Linked DNA regions of Homo sapiens: region 2 is linked to region 1. The links are contacts of gene promoters, found by promoter capture Hi-C in human tissues and cell types (Jung and others, 2019). All regions are on one chromosome and are shown on one strand. Each heading gives the region's core, a stretch centred on a gene start or on the middle of the fragment in contact. The rest is flanking DNA. Distances are from core to core; before and after follow the strand shown.

Region 1 (2,789 bases), core at 277-2,776:
GTAATAAAACAAAAATTATTTGCTGTTTTATGTTGGGAGAGGGTAATATTTGGTGACCACTTATTTTTAAAAACAATTTGGGGTGGGTTTTTCAAATGACTGTTAATCCAATGCCACAGTAAAATATGAGAGGCAGGCATCTAAAATGAGGAAGATTAATGATCCCTGCATGTCATGGAAGAAGAATAATGTTTTTCAATTCATATAAGTGGAATTTATCATAGCCATCTCTGAAGATGGTATGATTCACACACTTACTAAAGGACTATCTATTTCAATGCTTCTTAAAGAGGTGATTTTTCACTTTTCACTTCTACTAACATAAGAAAGACAAGTCTTCAGGCAGAAAATTTTAACCTGAGAGACAGTGGATGGGATAACTCAGCTGTTGAGTCAAATATAAGCATAAATTTAAAAACAAAGCAAATGAAGATTGCTCATGAGTTCAGGATCTGCAGCTAACAGAGTTTGGAAAGGTGGGTTGGGGAAAGAGGCAGTCAAAGTTTCAAAAGGGAAATGTTTCCCAGTATGTTCCTAAATAGATCCACTCTGCACCCAAGTTCAGGGCTTTACACACTGAGGTTATAATACTATTGTTTCCAAGCACTCAGCCTTAGTAATCCCCCTCCCTCTTCGCAGAAAAAGAAAACAACAGCAAAAAAGGACAGAAAATGAAATGATCTGTGTCCAGCGAGTTTGAGTGCAACCTTCCCCGTCACCGCTAGTTGTCACTTGGCTCCCAGACGGGAAAGCTGAGGTTTTCGGCACTGCGGTTAGGGAGAATGCAGTCCTAATTAAACTGAGTAACTCCTAAAGCTTCCCTTTAAAGTCCTCAGCCGAGTGAAAGCCAACATGCAGTGGGGCTGGGGACCAATAGTGGGGGGTGTAGCAGACAGAAGGACAAACAAACCGTAAGAAACAGGCAAACAGCTGCCAGAACAGCGACTGTCTCAGACCTCCACGCACAAGCCAGACACCCTGCGGGCGGGGGTGGGGTGGGTGGCGGGGGGTGGGAGGGGGGAGAAGGGAGACGGGGGATGGAAGGACCCGATTGCAGTGGAATACAGCACCCCTCTTCCCCAAAATGATGGGACCACGGACAGAGGTAGCCTCCGTACTCTTTCCCCCCATTTCCATCAGAGCGATGTGGTCAGTAGAAAATTGCATACCTGAAGAATACAATGGTCTCCCAAAGGTAGAGTCGAAGAGTATTGAAGCTGTACATTTTTCAGGTCCTTGTGCTTTGTAGTCCACGAGTTATGGGGGCAAAAATGTTTCAAATTGGCACTTACAAAACCAGAAAGCGCTATTGCAAAAAATAATCCAGATGTTAAAGGGAGGCGGGGAACAGGGGCGCGGAGGGAGAGCCCCAGGGGAAATTGGAGCGAGGGGGTCGTAGATACCACGGACAGCGGCGGCTGCGAGGCGTTTCAGCACCACGGAGAGCGTCCAGACCTGCTTTTCAGGAGCGCGAAGAGTATTGCTGTTTGTTAAACTCCAGCGTGTCTGTTGGCTCCCTGCGGCGCTGGGGAGGCACGTTTGGGGGTGGGTATATTTCCTTTTTTTTTTTTTTTTTTTTAAACCCCTGTTTTTCTGTTTAAACGGCCAGCTCCCTGCAAGGAAAAAAATCTTCTGTGGAGATCAGAGCGCTGGCCTCGGACCGTTGGATTGGGCGAGCATCTTGGGTAAAGAGAACAGAGCTTTATGGCTCTGGGCCGGCCTGAGGGGGTTAGGGGCGAGGGGAAAGCGGTTGACGGCGCTGCCTTCAGTTAAATCTCGGAGAGTGTGCCAGGCTGGCGCATCGCAATCCAGTCTCGGAATCTCGTTCTCCTGCCTCTGTGCGGGTCTGCTGTCGCCTTGCTATTCCTGTTTCCCGGTCCCCGCCGAATAAGTTGTGATCACTGCAGAAAAGGTGTCCCATTGCTCGGGGCCGCAGGCGTCAGAGAGCCCAGGGCAAGTTTCAGGGGCTACCGGGGTCCCTGGCTACCCCGCGGGGCTCTGAAGCCCAATGTCTCAGATGCATCTCGGTTTTCTGAGCTCGCTCATCTTCCCTTGGTCAAGACTCCTTCAGATCTTCAGACTTTCTTACTGCATTAATTTAACAAACTGGAGGCGTGGGGGATGGGAGGGGTGATAGCCGATGGGAGGGGGTTGAGGGGGAAAAAAAAAGGGGGAAAACTCCTTAGTATCTTCAAACCCTCCCACTCGAGGTGTTCATTGGCCCGCGGCTACGAAAACCAGATCTTCTCCCGGTATTCGGCCAATAGCCTGTTAGACTCCGGGTTGAATTTAACGCTTAGAGTGCTGGACGAGATCTGCGCAATCCCCTTCCTACCCCCAAGCTTCTTTCCGTGTAAGCGGTGGGGTGAGAGAGGATATGGAATTAATCTCTCTAGGTCTCTCAAAAGGTTGCCTTGATTTTTAAAGAATGCAGTTGTATGTGAGTAAAACACATGGTTCCTTGTTAAGACGTGCTCTGGGCTCAATTTATCCTTTTAAAAGGGAAGAGTTGAACCAGATCCCTGATTTTTTTTAAAAGAGCTCTGAAGTTATAATATTTGGCCCTAGAAAGAAAGGAGGAATATCCAAAAAGAAGTCTGGTGGATAAAGACCCCCTCCAGGGTCACCGCAGCAGGGAAATACGAGAGAAATTCTTTGAGCAGTTTCCAGCGTTGAGTGGGAGGTGTTGTGGCTGGCACCCTTTTGAGAGGGAATAAAAGCACCTTCTTCCAACTGGACAGGAGACAGTTTTATTCGCCTTTTATATGCTGGGGAAACTGAGCCTCACA
Region 2 (2,700 bases), core at 144-2,643, 430 kb after region 1:
TCACCTCCTGCTGTGCAGCCCACTTCCTAACAGGTCATGGACTGGTACCAGTCCGTCCGTGGCCTGGGGTTTGGGGATCCCCGTTTTAAACTTTCCTTGTACCCTCATTTTGCTTCCTCAACCCCAACTGCCTGACAGCATGTCTGCTCTCTAGCCTTGAATTCCAGTCTTACTTTCACTCAACAAAAGAAGAATAACAACTAATAAAAATTGCTTAGACTTTCTATGTGTGTACAATTTTGTATACATTCTCATTTAAACCCATGCAACAAACCTATGATATAGGGGTTTCAAAGGAAATGGAAGCTTAGAGGGATTAAGTAACTTGCCCAAGTTTTCACAGCTAATAAGTGGCTAAGCTAGAATTCAAACCCACTTTTAGGAGCTCTATCTTTGCATGCTTTTCTTTGGTGTGCACTGACTCCTTTTCCTGTATCGCGCATCTAATCGTGGTCTGACACATGGTCCCATCCTGAATATCTGTATTTATCACCGGGCTTTAGAAGTTCATAGTGTTAATAAGACATAAAGAGATTTCAGTCACTGGGTATTGGGGGAATTCTTGCAGGTGGAGGATCTCTCAGGATTGTGCAAATACTGCCACACAAGTCCCACCAACCCCACCCCAGCCAACCAACCATGTGCCTCACTGACTAGGTCAGAGCTCGTTAAGACTCATCTTCCCTTTTCTTCAGTCCCAGAAAGAAATGGGACTAAAGCCTTTATAGAAAATAAAGCCATCCCTCCCTGCAAAAGGACCCTGAGCTGGATTTTTGAGAGTCCAGAAAGCTTTTTGTATAAGAAATGTGATTTTTAAAAACCTGACAGGTAGGCATCCTTCCAGCTTTCTGTGGCTTACCAACGGCCCCTAGTGGCCAGTGGCTCCAAGTGCCACGAGCTGTAAGTCTTGGCTTCTTTGGTGCTAGCTGCATGCCCTGCAGAGTTCTATTGCACTGCATTAATTCCTGATCAACATATTTTGCAGTATTGGGACAGAAAAAATGATGAAGTCTAAAACTCTGGGCAAAGAAAGCATTATAATGGGTGATCAAAGCTATAAAATTGGCAGGCTTTCACGAAGGCCTCTCCCTTTTTAACATTCCAGACCACACACTTATGCAGTAGCCAATATTGTTATCTCTATGAGGTTCAGAGAGGCTGCTATGTAAACTAGGCTACACACTGGTTAGCAGGAAAGAACACCCGGGTTTGTGTGCGCACCGGTCTATGTAAACACAGGCTCTAACATTTGTCAGGCATGTCTAAAGCAGCATGTAGGTTGTTTATTGGCAAAGCAGTCATCTGGTTTTGGGAAATAATGGCAGCTACGATTTAAGATTCACTCTGTGCCAGGCACATGATAAATGCTCTTATGTGAAATATCTCATTCACTCTTCATAGCCACCACTGTGCAAGATAAACACCTCCAATTTGCAAATGAGAATTCAGTCTCAGCAAGGTCAAAACTGCCCGAGGTCACATAGCTGAAGTGGAAGAGCTGGAAATTAGGGCCCAGGTTCTTTGAATCCAAAGCAATAGCTTTCATTTACCTTAATACATAGCATGTGTGTTCTCCTTCAAGCAAATCGAAGTTGTTAGTCTTTAGCACACACTCACCAGAATCATTCTCTTCCTGTCTCCTAACCCGGCTGTATGCTGGTGAGCGTTCTGGCTGATAAGAGCTCAGGGACTGTTGGCTGGGTGCGGTGGCTCACGCCTGTAATCCCAGCACTTTGGGAGGTTGAGGTGGGCAGATCATCTGGGAGGCTGAGGTGGGCAGGAGTTTGAGACCAGCCTGGCGAACATGTCGAAACCCTGTCTCTACTAAAAACACAAAAATTAGTCAGATGTGGTTGTTACATGCACCTGTAATCCCAGCTACTTGGGAGGCTGAGGTAGGAGAATTGCTTGAACCCGGGAGGTGGAGGTTGCAGTGAGCCAAGATCATGCCACTGCACTCCAGCCTGGGTGACAGAGCGAGACTCCATCTCAGAAAAAAAAAAAAAAGGAGCTCAGCAACTGTGGACGTCTGTTGGCCAGTGCCCCTCTCAACATAAGACTTTATACCTGGGAGACTATTTTGTGTGTGCCCAATGTGCTCAGAAATCCTCTCTAACTGCTGTGGGGTGTGGGTGGCTGCTTTGGAAGGGTCATTGGCAACTCACTCATTTCCTGGAGACTTGGAGGGTTTTAGTTAGGGAGGCATGTGGACACTGCTGAGTCTAGTGGTCATTAGGCAGGCTTTGGAGTCAGGAGACATTAGGAGTTACTAAACCATTCAAGACTCAGTTTCCCAATCCATAAAATGAATCTTGTGGGGTTGTGGTAAGAGTTAAATAGGACAATACATAGGATATTCTTAACATAGCACCTGTCACAGAGTGCCTTGCTAATGTGTTCATGTGTGAGGGACACACTGTGACTCGATATAGCTCCCTGGGAAGGTTTCAACAGCAGCACTAACCACTGAGAGACCTGGCCCCTTGTCAGGTGTCAGCAGATGAGATTAGGTTTTGTTTCCCTTGAAACACAAATCAGTTAACTTACGGGTTGAAGCAAAACCAACATACTGATGGAAAAAAGCCAGAAGCAAAGAAATCCCTCTCCTAGGGATAAACAGGTGGAGTGAAATAGTGACAAAGTCTTTATTGGGAGCCACATCCCCCAAATCCCTTGCCAGGAGAGTATTGACTTTTGGTA

The links. The method cuts DNA at HindIII sites, captures the fragments that hold promoters and counts their contacts. A contact is called where the count stands out against the background at its distance.
Region 2: a contact is called between a fragment that was not itself captured here and the fragment with the promoter of GLRA1 in region 1, in 1 of the 25 tissues and cell types used here (H1 embryonic stem cells).

What each region holds. Positions count from the first base shown.
Region 1 is chr5:151,923,325-151,926,113 of GRCh38, forward strand. It overlaps GLRA1 (glycine receptor alpha 1), which reads right to left and starts at 1,527. Exons shown (of 9, transcript NM_000171.4): 1 at 1,170-1,527. The coding sequence starts at 1,225. RefSeq lists a silencer at 1,807-2,019. The HindIII fragment of the contact is 3,327 bases long and covers 332-2,789 here.
Region 2 is chr5:152,348,988-152,351,687 of GRCh38, forward strand. The region is part of intron 1 of LOC105378237 (a long non-coding RNA gene); the gene reads left to right. Among named protein-coding and RNA genes, the nearest start is that of NMUR2, 55 kb to the right of the region's middle. RefSeq lists a silencer at 850-949, an enhancer at 1,622-1,791 and a cis regulatory region at 1,707. The HindIII fragment of the contact is 3,466 bases long and covers 1-2,700 here.